Linked DNA regions of Homo sapiens: all the other regions are linked to region 2. The links are contacts of gene promoters, found by promoter capture Hi-C in human tissues and cell types (Jung and others, 2019). All regions are on one chromosome and are shown on one strand. Each heading gives the region's core, a stretch centred on a gene start or on the middle of the fragment in contact. The rest is flanking DNA. Distances are from core to core; before and after follow the strand shown. Region 1 overlaps GREB1L (GREB1 like retinoic acid receptor coactivator). Region 2 holds the start of SNRPD1 (small nuclear ribonucleoprotein D1 polypeptide). Region 3 has its middle 22 kb from the start of ROCK1. Region 4 holds the start of GREB1L (GREB1 like retinoic acid receptor coactivator). Region 5 has its middle 43 kb from the start of MIR133A1HG.

Region 1 (2,700 bases), core at 3-2,502, 350 kb after region 2:
GTGATCAGGCCCTTTGATTCTACCTAAACAACATACCTTTATCTACACAAATGAATTATAGGTTAGATCTCAAAGCAGTTTATTTTGATCAGATGCTTGATTTTGAAGTTATCAGTGGTTTCAGAGAAAATTCTGCACTGGGGAGTCACAAGGCAATTCAACTGTAAAGAGATGAGAATTAAACTAAAAGGTAGACAAAATCTGCCAACAATCTTCCTATAACTTCAGAAGTGAAAATGATTGTTTTTGTATTTCTTGGTCATACAACAAAATGGTAGCAGTGAAGGTTGTTCTTGTCTTATGAAAAATGACACTTAACTACTCTCTGATCTCTATTGCTTCTGAGATAACCTACAAAAACTGATGACTGACTGACTTAGAATGCTAGGTGACAGAGATCCCTACTTCTCTAGTCAATAACCATTTATTAAACAGTGTCACAGTGAGTAGGTAGCATTTAAAGTAAGGAGTAGCTCTACCACCCTAAAATGTAATTTGCAGATATATGACAACAGATATCACAGAAAATTTACCATTTACATAACCATATCATAAAAGTCTAACTTAGATTTAGGACAACATTAAACTTAAGTCATTGAAAATTCAAATGGAAAATTCAAGTTGAGACTTAAGAAAAGATTCTATATAAAGATTTATCAAAAATCACAACCAGGGAGATATGAATTCTGGAAACTAAAGACAAGGAGATTTCAATGTTTAAGACAGGTAATACACAACTAGAAAACTACATGTCCAATTATTTTATTCAATTTTTCTGTAATCTCAGCACAGAAACTACAGAAAACAACCTTAAGGCTATTTTTGTAATGGACGAAGACAAGGATAGTGACCTACCAACAAGTGAAAACCCTTCAATATGAGTCTGTGCTTGCAATCCCAAACCAAACGTGCTGATTCAGCACAAAGTCATCAATGGAGTTCTTATCTTTTCAAGGAACAATCCATTGTCTGGCTGAAACAAAGGGCAGTGCACAGGAAATCAGCCAAATCTGGGCCAGATGGCCACTGATTCAAGTTTCATTCTCCCCATCCCCCACCTTCCCTGGCACTGCAAAAAAAGATGCAGGCAGCACTTTCAGTCACCAGGTAATAATCTGCATGTGGGGTATAAACCTTTTACAATTACATATACTCCCCACCTCAACACCATGTAATTTGTTAAAGCAGAATGTCCTTATAAAATGTTTAATGAGGAAGATCTATAAAGCAATTCTTGAAAATACCCCTGTAAGCCCATCGTTTCTTAGGCATGGCATGAAGTTTTAGCAGACGAAATGATTAAAAATATTCATACTAACTTGTTCTCATCTACTGTTTTTCTCAAACCATGACACAAACTAGAAATGAACCCAGAGAAAACTGCTTTATCATGGCCATTTCCATGGGTTGATATCACTGGCCCACCGCCTTGCTAAGAACTTCTAGGTTTTGTAACCTAGAAACACTTTGTACAATTACAATGACAAACTACTAATACAAGTAATTAGAATAATGATTAATACTAACTTCCAAATCATGTTAAGAAACATAAAATTTTTGTTACAAAATATCTGTCTTAAACTAACTGGGCTTTGATCCAAATGAGGTAGAACATTGCTTTCTGTGTGAAATAACAGAAACAACTGTTTGGGAAAGCAGAAGTGTAACGGAGCAAAAGTATCTCTAAGCACGTAATCTTATAAAAAATTTTATAAAGTATTCACATACTCCATCTGGGATGGGAAAAGCCCAACCACATAAGTAACCCCATAAGGTCTGTCATTCAAAACAGAGAAAGAATTCTAGTTTTTAAAGTTCACTTTCTCCAAGCCTCAGAAGTTAAGAGGAATGGCAAGGAAGTTGGAGAAGGAGCAAAAAAAAAGATCTGTGTTTGAAAGGAGAGGTAGTTACTACCCCTAAGAATGATGCCAATAACTCCTGTTCTCAAGGAAATCACCCCTACATATTATTCTGGAATCACGGAGTAAACAGGAGAAAAATGCTAGTGGATTTTCATAAAAACCAGTGTGTCTGACCGTGTGTCATAGAATCTGTAAATTAGTATACTGCTATAAATACACAATTTGCATCCTTACTGGTTACTATAAAACTCAATTTTAAATTCTAACCAATAACTATTAATTTAAAGCAAATCATACAGAATTATGTCATACTTAAATCATGGAAACATGTATATTAAAGAATGGCATAAGTAAAAATCTAAGACCTCAAAATGTTCAAAACACTTTTACTTTTCCTAGCTTTATAAAATAAAGGTATTTAGAAAATAAAAAATTAAAATAAAATAAAGGTATTTAGAATAAACAAAAGTCTTTTCTTTGATGGCAACCCTTGACTCTATAGGGGTTGCTTGAGAAATATTTACATTTATGTGGCTTAAGTAAATTTTGTCAACCAACAAATAGCAATTCCTTTAGTAAATTTTATAATCCTTTTTATAATTACTTTGGAAATGTCAATGCAGGAGTAAATTTTATTGGCATGCTACAGTGTCGCTTTTCCAAAATTTACATATAGAAAGGTTAGGGTAGATCAAGGAGGTTTTCTGCCTACTTGTTTGTTTTTTTAACACAAGATAATCACAGGCTGGTAATGAAATGACTAAAGACAAAAATGACTTGAAAATATGCAATCAACAGCAACTCACACAAATGGCCTATTTTATTGTAGGGAAGTTGA
Region 2 (2,700 bases), core at 183-2,682:
GTAGCTGGGATTAAAGGCGCGCGCCACCACGCCCCACTAACTTTTGTAATTTTCGTAGAGACGGGGTTTCACCATGTTGGTCAGGCTGGTCTCGAACTCCTGACCTAGTGATCCACCCGCCTTGGCCTCCCAAAGTGCTGGGATTACAGACGTGAGCCACTGCGCCTGGCCTCCTCCCTGAGTGTTGAAGGCTTTTATGTGTTATTTAAAACGTTTCAAACAAACGTTACTTCAGACGTTATCTACTTGTCTGTCATCCCCACTAACCAGAAAACTCCAACAAGGCAGGTACTCTGCCTTTTAAAAAATCCTATTACCAGCGCCTAGTATGTAACAGGTGCCCAATAACTATTTAGCGGATATTGACAATCCTTGACTCAACAGGAAAAAAACAAGCTAAATATTTATAATTGCTGGCTTAGCTATTAGAAACGTCTGCCTCTGTTCCAGGCTTAGTCTCAAGGAAAAACACCAAAACCAAATCTACTTGCAGGTAGTTTAGAATTATTCACATCAGCAAACAAGTTTTCAGAAGACTCACCTAACTGACAGGGTCTATTTATTTCTTAAGAAATAAAACAGGAGAACTATATATTATCTGAGTAATCAGCCACAATTACGTTGTGATAATTTCTGCCCTATATTGGGAGATTTTCCTAAATAAAAAGCCTACCTTAAAGGGAAATAGAGGTGGAATAATCAATCACAAATCTAAGGAGGATAAAAAGGTAAACTTAAAAATCGGCCGGGCACGGTGGCTCAAACCTGTAATCTCAGCCCTTTGGAAGGGCGAGGCGGGCAGAAAGCTTGAGCCCAGGAGTTCGAGACCAGCCTGGTCAACAAAGTGAGACACCATCTTTATTTAAAAAAACAAAAACTTGTGAAGCCGGAAGTCCTTCTCTGATTTAAAATATTTTGCAAACAGGTTTGTTTCCAGATAAGCTCATACAGCTTTCTAAGTACTGTTAAGCAGGACTGGGGAGTTCCACTCAAAAAGAAAATGAGTAACTGTAAGAGGGAGATGTGTCCCAGGAGGCGCTGCATCTTTAAAGCCTCTAAGTCACTAGGCAGGAAGAAAAGGCTCGGCCTTTATACCAATCTCTTGGAAGACACGCGGGATCCGCGAGCGACCCAGGCGGAAGCCCAGGCCCGAGCACGAGCTGCGGGCGCAGTAAGGCCGGCCGTTAGCAGGCCGCGCACACGCGGCTTTCCCGCCTCCTGCAAATGGGAGAGCCCAGCCTTCCGGACTCCGGGCCAAGCCCTCCCTTCACAGCCCCCAGAGCTGCTTGGTCACTCCCTCACCTCACGAGCTTCATCCTAGCGGCGCCGTCACCCTCTGGGTCCGACAGCACACAGAATCCTTCAACCGAACACTGACCGACTGCAGTATGAATGGCCGGAAGCGCCTACTCCAGGGGCTCCGGACGTCAAGAGCGCGCGGAGCACTGCAGGCGCATGGCGGAAACGCCGAGGCTGCGCTGGGCCGCACTCTCTTCCGGCCGCGAGGAGCGCGACTGCGGCCCCTGGCGGCTGGAGGTTGCCTTGCGACGGCTGAGGGTATCGAGGGCTGGTCTTGGAGAAAAATGTCCTACAAGAGAGGGAGATTCGAAGAGATTAAATCCAATTAATAGGACTGTCGCATTTTGGGAGGCCGAAGCGGGGGTATCACCTGAGGTCAGGAGTTCAAGACCAGCCTGGCCAACAGGGTGAAACCCCCGTCTCTACTAAAAAGACAAAAAATTAGCTGGGCGTGGTGGCGGGCGCATGTAATCCCAGCTACTCGGAAGGCTGAGGCAGGGGAATCGCTTGAACCCGGGAGGCGGAGGCTGCAGTGAGCGGAGATCGCACCACTACACTCCTGCCTGGGCAACAAGAACGAAACTCCGTCTCCCAAAAAAAAAAAAAAAAAAAAAAAGTACTGTCACCATCACGTTTCTGAACAGCAGGGCACTGTGAGTGCAGCACCTAATACAAATTCCTCACTGAACGGAAAGAAGGTCTTAGAGAAGCCCAAAGTCTTATGCTGATTCTGTTCCAACACCAGGAACCTAGCATTGCTTACTGTACCTGAAGCAAATCACACAATGGGCCAGGCGCTGTGGCTCAAGCCTGTAATTCCAGCACTTTGGGAGGCCGAGGCGGGCAGATAGCGAGGTCAAGAGATCGAGACCATTCTGGCCAACATGGTGAAACCCCGCCTCTACTAAAAATACAAAAATTAGCGGGGCGTGGTGATGCGCGCCTGTAGTCCCAGCTATTCGGGAGGCTGAGGCAGGAGAATCGCTTGAACCCAGGAGGTGGAGGTTGCAGTGAGCTGAGATCGTGCCACTGCACTCCAGCCTGGCAACAGAGCGAGACTCCGTCTCAAAAAATAATAATAATAAAAATAAAATCCACAATGTAGCAGATTATTTTCACTTTAAGTTCCAATCTATAAGACAAACTTTTCAGTCTTCATCTTTCTCAACATCTCATCAAAATATATATATTTTTTATTTTTTTGAGATGGAGTCTCACTCTGTCGCCCAGGCCGGAGTGCAGTAGCGCGATCTCAGCTCACTGCAACCCTTGCCTCCCGGTTTCAAGCCATTCTCGTGCCTCAGCCTCTCCAGTAACTGAGATTACAGGCGCGCATCACCATGGCCCGCTAATTATCGTCTTTTTATGTATGTATGTATGTACGTACGTATGTATGTATTT
Region 3 (2,700 bases), core at 80-2,579, 480 kb after region 2:
ATCCTGGCCAACATGGTGAAACCACGTCTCTACTAATAATACAAAATTAGCTGGGCATGGTGGCGCGTGCCTGTAATCCCAGCTACATGGGAGGTTGTGGCAGGAGAATCGCTTGAACCAAGGTTGCAGCGAGCTGAGATCACGCCACTACACTCCAGCCTGGATGACAAGAGTGAGACTCCATCTCAAACAACAACAACAATAACAAACAACAAAAAACAAAAAACAACAACAAAAAATTATACATATTTTAAAGAACTAAATAGGAAGAAAAAGGCAAACAATCTTTTAGATTTACCCAGCTATTTACTGTTCGTGTTGTTCTTCATTCATTCCTAAAGTTCCAGGTTTCACCTAGTATTATTTTGCTTCAGTCTGAAGAACTTCCTTGCACATTTCTTTTAGTTAGCTATGAGTTTTCTTAGTTTTCCTTCATCTGAGAATATCTTTGTTTCTCCTTCATGCCTGAGGATATTTTTGCTGGATGTGGAGTGCTGGCTTGACAGTTTTGTCATAATTTTACAGATGTTATTCCACTGTCTTCTGGCTTCTGTGGTTTCTGATGAGAAGTCCAACATCATTGTTAACATCATCGTTCTCCTGTATATAATGTGTCATTTTTCCTTAGCTGCTTTTAAGATTTTTTTCATTACATTTAGTGTTTAGTAGTTTGATTATAATGTGTTTGGGTGCGCTTTTCTCTGAGTTTATTCTATTTTGGGTTCGCTGAACTTCTTAAATCTGCAAGTTGATGTCTTTTTCTCCAAGTTTGGGAAGTTTTCAGTCATTATCTTCAAATGTTTTTTTCCATACCAATATCTTTATAGGACTCCAGTGTTATCAGTGTTAGACTTTTGATATAGTCCCATGAGTCCCTGAAGTTCTATTCAGTTTTTTTCCGATCTTTTTTCTCTTTGTTCTTCAAATTGGATAACTTCTATTAATCTGTCTTTAGGTTCACTTACTCTTTTCTCTGTCATCTTCATTCTGCTATTGAACCCATCCAGTAAATTTTATTTTACGTATGTATTTATTTTGAGACAGGGTCTCACTCTGTTACCCAGGCTGGAATGCAGTGGCACAATCTTGACTCACTGCAACTTCCACCTCCCAGGCTCAAGTGATCTTCCCACCTCAGCCACCTGAGTAGCTGGGACCACAGTTACGTGTCACCATGCCTAGCTAATTTTTTGTATTTTTGGTAGAGACCATGTTGCCCAGGCTGGTTTTGAACTCCTGACCTCAAGTGATACATACGCTTGCCTCAGCCTCCCAAAGAGCCGGGATTACAGGTGTGAGCCACCATATCCGGCCCCATCCAGTAAATTTTAAATTTCAGATATTGTATGTTTCAATACTAAATTTTCTATTTTCTTTTTTAATGATCTTTCCACTTACTTTACTTAACATGTGTTTTCCTTTACCTCATGAAGCTTATAGTATCTATTTTAAAGTCTTTATTTGACAATGTCACCAGGTGTGTCATCTTGGGGTTGACCTTTGCTAACTGTCTGTTCTCTTAAGAACTGGTCACGGCCAGGCACGGTGACTCACACCTGTAATCCCAGCACTTTGGGAGGCTGAGGCGGGCAGATCACAAGGTCAGGATATCGAGACCATCCTGGCTAACACGTGAAACCCCGTCTCTACTACAAATACAAAAAATTAGCCTGGCATTCAGAGGGGACAGCGTGCTGGCAGCCCTCGCAGCCCTCGCTCACTCTTGGCACCTCCTTGGCCTCTGAGACCACTCTGGCCATGCTCCAGGAGCCCTTCAGCCTGCCACTGCGCTGTGGGGGCCCCCCTCTGGGCTGGTTGAGGCCAGAGCCGGCTCCCTCAGCTTGCCGGGAGGTGTGGAGGGAGAGGAGCGGGTGGGAACCAGGGCTGCGTGTGGCGCTTGCAGGCCAGCTAGAGTTCCGGATGGGCGTGGGCTTGGCGGGCCCTGCACTCAGAGCGGCCCTGGGCAGTGGGGCCAGCAGCTGCGGAGGGTGCACTGGGTCCCCCAGCAGTGCCTGCGCTCGATTTCTCGCCGGGCCTTAGCTGCCTCCCCGCGGGGCAGGGCTCGGGATGTGGGCTCCTGCGCAGCCCGAGCCTCCCTGAGCGAGTGCCACTCCCTGCTCCACAGCGCCCGATCCCATCCACCGCCCAAGGGCTGAGGAGTGCAGGCCACGGCCCAGGACTGGCAGGCAGCTCCACCTGCGGCCCAGTGCGGGATCCACTGGATGAAGCCAGCAGGGCTCCTGAGTCTAGTGGGGACTTGGAGAACCTTTAGGTCTAGCTAAGGGATTGTCAACACACCAATCAGCACACTGTGCCTAGCTCCGGATTTGTGGATGCATCAATGGCACTCTGTATCTAGCTAATCTGGTGGACACTTGGAGAATCTTTATGTCTAGCTAAGGGACTGTGAATACACCAATCGGCACTCTGTATCTAGCGCAAGGTTTGTAAATGCACCAATCAGCACCCTGCGTCTAGCTCAAGGTTTGTAAATGCACCAATCTGTGGGTGCTCTGTGTCTAGCTGATCTGGTGGGGACTTGGAGAACCTTTATGTCTAGCTAAGGGATTCTAAACGCACCAATCAGCACCTTGTCAAAATGGACCAATCAGCTCTCTGTAAAACAGACCAATCGGCTCTCTATAAAATTGACCAATCAGTAGGCTGTGGGTGGGGCCAGATAAGACAATAAAACCAGGC
Region 4 (2,700 bases), core at 164-2,663, 370 kb after region 2:
TAAAGTCTAAGAACATATATAGATGAATGAGAGGTTTTATTAAGGGGGACTGAGTTCAAAAACCTTTTGTGGGAAAGCTCTTCCCTGTATTTAAACGGCTAGGTTTAAAAATGTGATTTAAGCAGGGATTCCCGCCTCGAGGCGGGGGGAGGCGGAAAAAAACACCTTACGGTGTGAAAAGCAGAAATTAAAATGTGGTTTCTATCCTCTCAGCCGGGGCCAGAGGAGTGGGTGGGGAGGATAAGGACCTTGGAACCGTCACGTTCACCGGAGAAAGGGGCAAGACTGAGGAGTTTCTCCAGGACCCGCAGCCTCGGTTAGAGGCAGCGGCAGTTCCGGGCAAACGAGTCGCGTTCGGGGACGTTCCTTGGACTCATGTAACTGAGAAACCCCACGCACTGAATCTCCACATGGAGTTTCCTCTTAATGGAGCTGGGAAGAGGGACGGCGGGAATGGATTTCCTTTAACGAGTCTCCCTCACCCTCCCCGGCCAGGGCGCACCTCACTCGCTGTCTGCTTGTGTCAGGGTCAGCTGTCAACACAACTCTTTGTGTCTCATTCGGAATAAGAGTGGTCCTCAGCCATGCACAGAAAAATGGACATGCTGGCCGGAAGACACGCGCGCCCGCTCGTGACGAAGTGACATTTGGTGTTGAGGAAAAAAACCCACAGACGCCGAGCGAGCGCCCAGCCACCTCTGGACGTTCTCAACTTTCCCAGGCTGAACTCCATCCATCCTCTCCCCGCCACCTCCGCGGCGCCCTACCTGTCGCCCGCCCGCCTGCCCGGCACCCCCTCACTGCCCCTGGGCTCGGGGAGACGAACCAGGTGCCCCCTCGCCGCCTCCGCCGGGGGACCCCGCGCTACTCGGCGCGCCGCAGCTCCCTCGTCCCACCCCCGGGCCGTCTCGCTCCCGCCACAAAGGCAGCGAGTAGAGCCCGGTGACAGGCCTTCGGCCTCTGGGCGCGGACAGCACGGCCGGGTCCCTTCGGTGGGCGACGCGAGGCGGCAGGGAAGGCAGGCACGGCTCCCAGGTTGGCACTGGCGCTCCCTCGCCACCCGCACGCGCTCCGCTCACACCCCCGCTGAGCTTCCCATCCCTCCGGAAAAGTCCGCTGCGGCGCTTCCCCGCGCGGCCAGGGCGTCCAGCCCGCCAAAGGGCAGCTCCTGCCGGTCACAGGCGAGCTCCCGCGCCCGGTTCGCGACCTCTCACCTCCTGCCCGCGCCCCGGAGTCCCCGCGGCCGCTCACCTGGCCCTAGCGGGGCGCGAGGGCAGAGGACCAGGGGGTGGCCCTCGGCTCGGCCGGGCTGGTCTCCCCACCCCCAGTGCCGTTCCCTGCGCCGCGCTGCGCTCCGCTGCTCCGGCCGCCCGACTCCGAGGTGCTAGCGCCGCCGGCGGCTGGCGTCTCTCTGGCAGGCGCGCGGTCCGCGCGCTCAGTTCCCCGGGGCGGAGCGAGGCGGCGGCCGCCGCAGCCGGAGGCGGATTCCTCAGGTGCTGCCCCTCCCGCCCGCCCTGGCCTCCGCAGCGGGGACCCCCGCGCCCCCTCCCCCCGCCCCGCCTCGCGCCTTCCCGCTGCCTCGGCGTCCGCGAGTGGCTTTTGGGGGTCCCTCGCCCTCTGTGAGGGTGGTGGGCGCGCATTTCTCCCCTACCCCCCTCCAACGACGCCCCCCGCCCAGCCTGTGGAGCCCTCGATGCGCGGTCCTCACGCCTCCATTCCCAAACCCCGCCGCACAGACGAACGCGCAGCCCCGCGGGGGTGTACAGGGGGTCGTGCGGGGGGGGGGTCTTCTGTGAGGGAGGGCTGCACCCCAGTGTGCTGACGCGCGAAGCCAGGAGGAAAAATTATTTCCCCTGGAGCCCGCGTTCATTCAGCCTGCTCTCGCCTCTGCGCAATTGCTTTCTCTGTTCACTGGACGGCGGCTGAAGAGCCCCAAGCGTGAACTCGGCCTGGGCAGTGGTGGCTCGGAAACCCTTGGCCTTTTGCATGAAGGGGGTAGGGTGGGGGCAGGGCGCGGACAAAACCAAACAAACCCGGGAGCTCCGGGCCCAAGCCGACTTTTGCACCTCCCGGAGGAGCACGCCCTCCGGCCCCGGGCCCCGGCTCGTCGGTAGCCTCCCGGGACCACGGGGACGGCTCCACCCCAGGGCAGCCGCGTCCAGCTGGCCCTGGGCCTTGACGGGTGCTGCGGGGAAAAGGTTCTTGAGAGATGCTGCGGCCCGGTAGAGAGATTTAGCTCCACTTTTCACAGCTGGAGGCTTTTGTTATTAGAGATGCGGCTCCATTTTTAAAACTAATTGTTGCCACAGATAGGCGACTACATCTCTGGAAGCAGCAGCTCCATGCTGGATGTGGTGGAAGAATCGAGGTAAGGAAAGGCTGATGTATTTTGAGTGCCTTTAGTGCAGTACAGCCCGGGGGAGCTCCCCGTGTGCGTGGGAGTGGGGAGGCAGCCGCGGCGCCCAGGCCCGGGTGGGTTGGAATCATTGTCAAGTGATAGGTACCATTTAAAGACATTGTCAATTAAACTAGTTCTCATACGATGTCCCAGTACTTTTGTTTGCTTGTCTTGCATTTTTCTTTTTTGCCATATCCGAAATACATTTTTTTCTTTCCTGTCACTTTTGATCCATGCAGAGGGAATGGACTGGAAGTTTGGAATCACCGGAAAATAACAAGGCATAGCTAAGCTGTGACTAG
Region 5 (2,700 bases), core at 76-2,575, 260 kb before region 2:
CGGATTCATATTTGGGTTCTCTATTCTGTTCCATTGGTCTATGTATCTGTTTTTATGCCAGTATCATACTGTTTTGATTACTATAGCTTTGTAATAAATTTTGAAGCCAGGTAGTGTGATGTCTCCAGCTTTGCTCTTTCTGTTCAGGATTTCTTTGGCTATTTGGTCTTTCGTAGTTTCATATACATTTTAGGATTGTTTTTCTATTTCTGTGAAGAATGTTATTCATGTTTTGAAAGAAATGGCATCGGATCTGTAAATTGCTTTAGGTACTATGGTCACTTTAAAAATATTAATTCTTCCAACCCATGAGCATGGAATGTTTTCCCATTTGTGTGTGTGTATGTGTGTCCTTTTCTATTTCTTTCATCAGTTTTACAGTTTTCCTTGTATAGATCTTTCACTACTTTTGTTAGATTGATTCTTAGGTATTTTATATTTTTTTGTAGCTGTTGTAAATAGGATTACTTTTTTGATTTTCCAGGTTGTTTGCTGTTGGCATATAGAAATGCTACTGATTTTTGTATGTAGGTTTTGTATTCTGCAACTTTACTGAATTCATTTATCAGTTCTAACATATTTTGGTGAAGATTTTAGGTTTTTCTAGGTATAAGATCATGTCGCCTGTGAACAAGGCTAATTTGATGTCTTCCTTTCCAATTTGGATGCCCTTTATTTATTTCTCTTGCCTAATTGCTCAGCCTTTAATTTTTCTCCATTTAGTACAATGTTTAGCCATGGGTTTGTCATAGATGGCCTTTTATTATTTTGAGGTATGCTCCTTTAATACCCATCATAAAGGGATGTTAAATTTTATCAAATGCTTTTTCAGCATCTATTAAAATAATCACATGGTTTTTATCCTTGATTCTGTTAATGAGATGTATCATGTTTATTGACTTGTGTATTGTATGGCAGATGCACCTGACAGCAGTAACTTAAGCATACCCTGAGAATGACCCTATGGTCTAAGAAGAATGTGTGCTCAGAGTTCCATGCTAAGGAATCCAGTAGTGGCTAATCTGGAGATTCACTTCTTATGAAGGACGTTGAACCCCTCTGCCCATTCCTTGAAACATAGGATGTGCAAGGAAACGAGGCCACTTTTCTTGGTTAAATGAAGTTTGCTAGGTTGGTGTTGCTACGTGAAAATGCCATATAAACTGCATGCTTTTTACAAACAGTAGCAGTGCTCCTGTCCACCCTGTCACCTCTGGACTGCCTTGTATGTAAGTCCTCTGTAAACCCTGTCTCGTTTACTGGCTCCAGGTCTCTTCTGGGCCTCTCAGACACAATGCCATCTCTTTTGGAGTCAGTAGGGGTCTGGCATGACACATATGTTGAACCATCTTTGCATCCCTGGGATGAATCCCACTTGACCATGGCGAATGATCTTTTTAATGTGTTGTTGTATTTTGTAATATTTTGTTGAGGATTTTTGCATCTATGTCCATAAGGGATAATGGCCTGCAGTTTTCTTTTTTTTATTGTGTCCTTGTCTGGTTTGGGTATCAGGGTGATATTGTTTGGCTCTGTGACCCCACCCAAATCTCACCTTGAGTTGTAATAATCCCCATGTGTCAAGGGCAGAACCAGGTGGAGATAATTGAGTCATGGGGGCAGTTTCTGCCATGCTGTTCTCATGATAGTGAGTTCTCATGAGAGCTGATGATTTTATAAGGGGCTTCCCCCTTTGCTCGGCATTCATTATCTCTCCTGCCACCCTGTGAAGGGGTGCCTTCTGCCATGATTGCAAGTTTCCCGAGGCCTCCCCAGCCATGTGGAACTGTGAGTCAATTAAACCTCTTTTCTTTATAAATTACCCGGTCTTGGGTATTTCTTCATAGCAGCGTGAGAATGAACTAATACACAAGGTAATGCTAGCCTGATAGAATTTGTTTGGAAGTATTCCCTCCTTTTCAATTTTTGGAGGAGTTTAATTGGTATTAATACTTCTTTTGAACGTTTGGTAGAATCCACCAGTGAAGCAATCAGGTCCTTGGGCTTTTCTTTGATTGGAGACTTTATTGGGGTTTCAATCTCATTACTTGTTACTGGTCTGTTCAGGTTTTCTACTTCTTCGTGGCTCAATCTCGGTAGGGTGTATGTGTCCAGGAATTTACCCATTTCTTCTAGGTTTTCCAATTTATTGGCATATCATTATTCATAATATTCTCCAATGATCCTTTGCATTTATGTGGTATCAGATGTTATGTTACCTTTCTCATTTCTGATATTATTTGGGTCTTCTCTTTTTTTAGTCTAGCTAAAAGTCAGTCAATTTTATCTTTTCAAAAAAACAACTTTTCATTTTATTCAACTTTGTTTCTTTCCTAGTCCCAATTTCATTTATTTCTGTGCTGATCTTTATTACTTCCTTCCTTCTACAAATTTTGAGTTTGGTTTGTCTTTTCTTTGGGAAATTTAGTCCATTTGCATTCCATGTTATTATTGATAAGAACTTACTATTGCCATTTTGTTCTTTGTTTTCTGGTTGTTTTATAACTAACTCCTCTCTTCCTTTCTTCCTTTCTTTGTGGTTAATTTTATCTCTGGTAAAATTTTTTTTTGTTTTTTCTTTTTATTTTTGAGACGGAGTTTCACTCTTGTTGCCCAGGCTAGAGTGCAGTGGTGTGATCTCAGCTCATTGCAACCTCTGCCTTCCGGTTTCAAGTGATTCTCCTCAGCCTCCCGAGTAGC

What was found. Contacts are between HindIII fragments. The study calls those that stand out against the background at their distance.
Region 1: a contact is called between a fragment that was not itself captured here and the fragment with the promoter of SNRPD1 in region 2, in 3 of the 25 tissues and cell types used here (hippocampus, mesenchymal stem cells and mesendoderm cells).
Region 3: a fragment that was not itself captured here is called in contact with the fragment with the promoter of SNRPD1 in region 2 in 2 of the 25 tissues and cell types used here (dorsolateral prefrontal cortex and spleen).
Region 4: a contact is called between the fragment with the promoter of GREB1L here and the fragment with the promoter of SNRPD1 in region 2, in 1 of the 25 tissues and cell types used here (thymus).
Region 5: a fragment that was not itself captured here is called in contact with the fragment with the promoter of SNRPD1 in region 2 in 3 of the 25 tissues and cell types used here (hippocampus, lymphoblastoid cells and spleen).

The regions. Positions count from the first base shown.
Region 1 is chr18:21,261,463-21,264,162 of GRCh38, reverse strand. All of the region lies in intron 1 of GREB1L (GREB1 like retinoic acid receptor coactivator), which reads right to left. Among named protein-coding and RNA genes, the nearest start is that of GREB1L-DT, 20 kb to the right of the region's middle. RefSeq lists an enhancer at 710-1,237. The HindIII fragment of the contact is 6,154 bases long and covers 1-2,700 here.
Region 2 is chr18:21,611,046-21,613,745 of GRCh38, reverse strand. It overlaps SNRPD1 (small nuclear ribonucleoprotein D1 polypeptide), which reads right to left and starts at 1,432. Exons shown (of 4, transcript NM_006938.4): 1 at 1,303-1,432. The coding sequence starts at 1,316. RefSeq lists an enhancer at 1,284-1,373 and a silencer at 1,634-1,683. The HindIII fragment of the contact is 13,798 bases long and covers 1-2,700 here.
Region 3 is chr18:21,131,998-21,134,697 of GRCh38, reverse strand. No RefSeq gene overlaps it. Among named protein-coding and RNA genes, the nearest start is that of ROCK1, 22 kb to the right of the region's middle. RefSeq lists an enhancer at 2,525-2,700. The HindIII fragment of the contact is 6,202 bases long and covers 1-2,700 here.
Region 4 is chr18:21,240,945-21,243,644 of GRCh38, reverse strand. It overlaps GREB1L (GREB1 like retinoic acid receptor coactivator), which reads right to left and starts at 1,413. Exons shown (of 33, transcript NM_001142966.3): 1 at 1,252-1,413. It overlaps GREB1L-DT (GREB1L divergent transcript), which reads left to right and starts at 917. Exons shown (of 3, transcript NR_183513.1): 1 at 917-1,035; 2 at 2,310-2,368; 3 at 2,638-2,700. The HindIII fragment of the contact is 24,686 bases long and covers 1-2,700 here.
Region 5 is chr18:21,873,392-21,876,091 of GRCh38, reverse strand. No RefSeq gene overlaps it. Among named protein-coding and RNA genes, the nearest start is that of MIR133A1HG, 43 kb to the right of the region's middle. The HindIII fragment of the contact is 6,212 bases long and covers 1-2,700 here.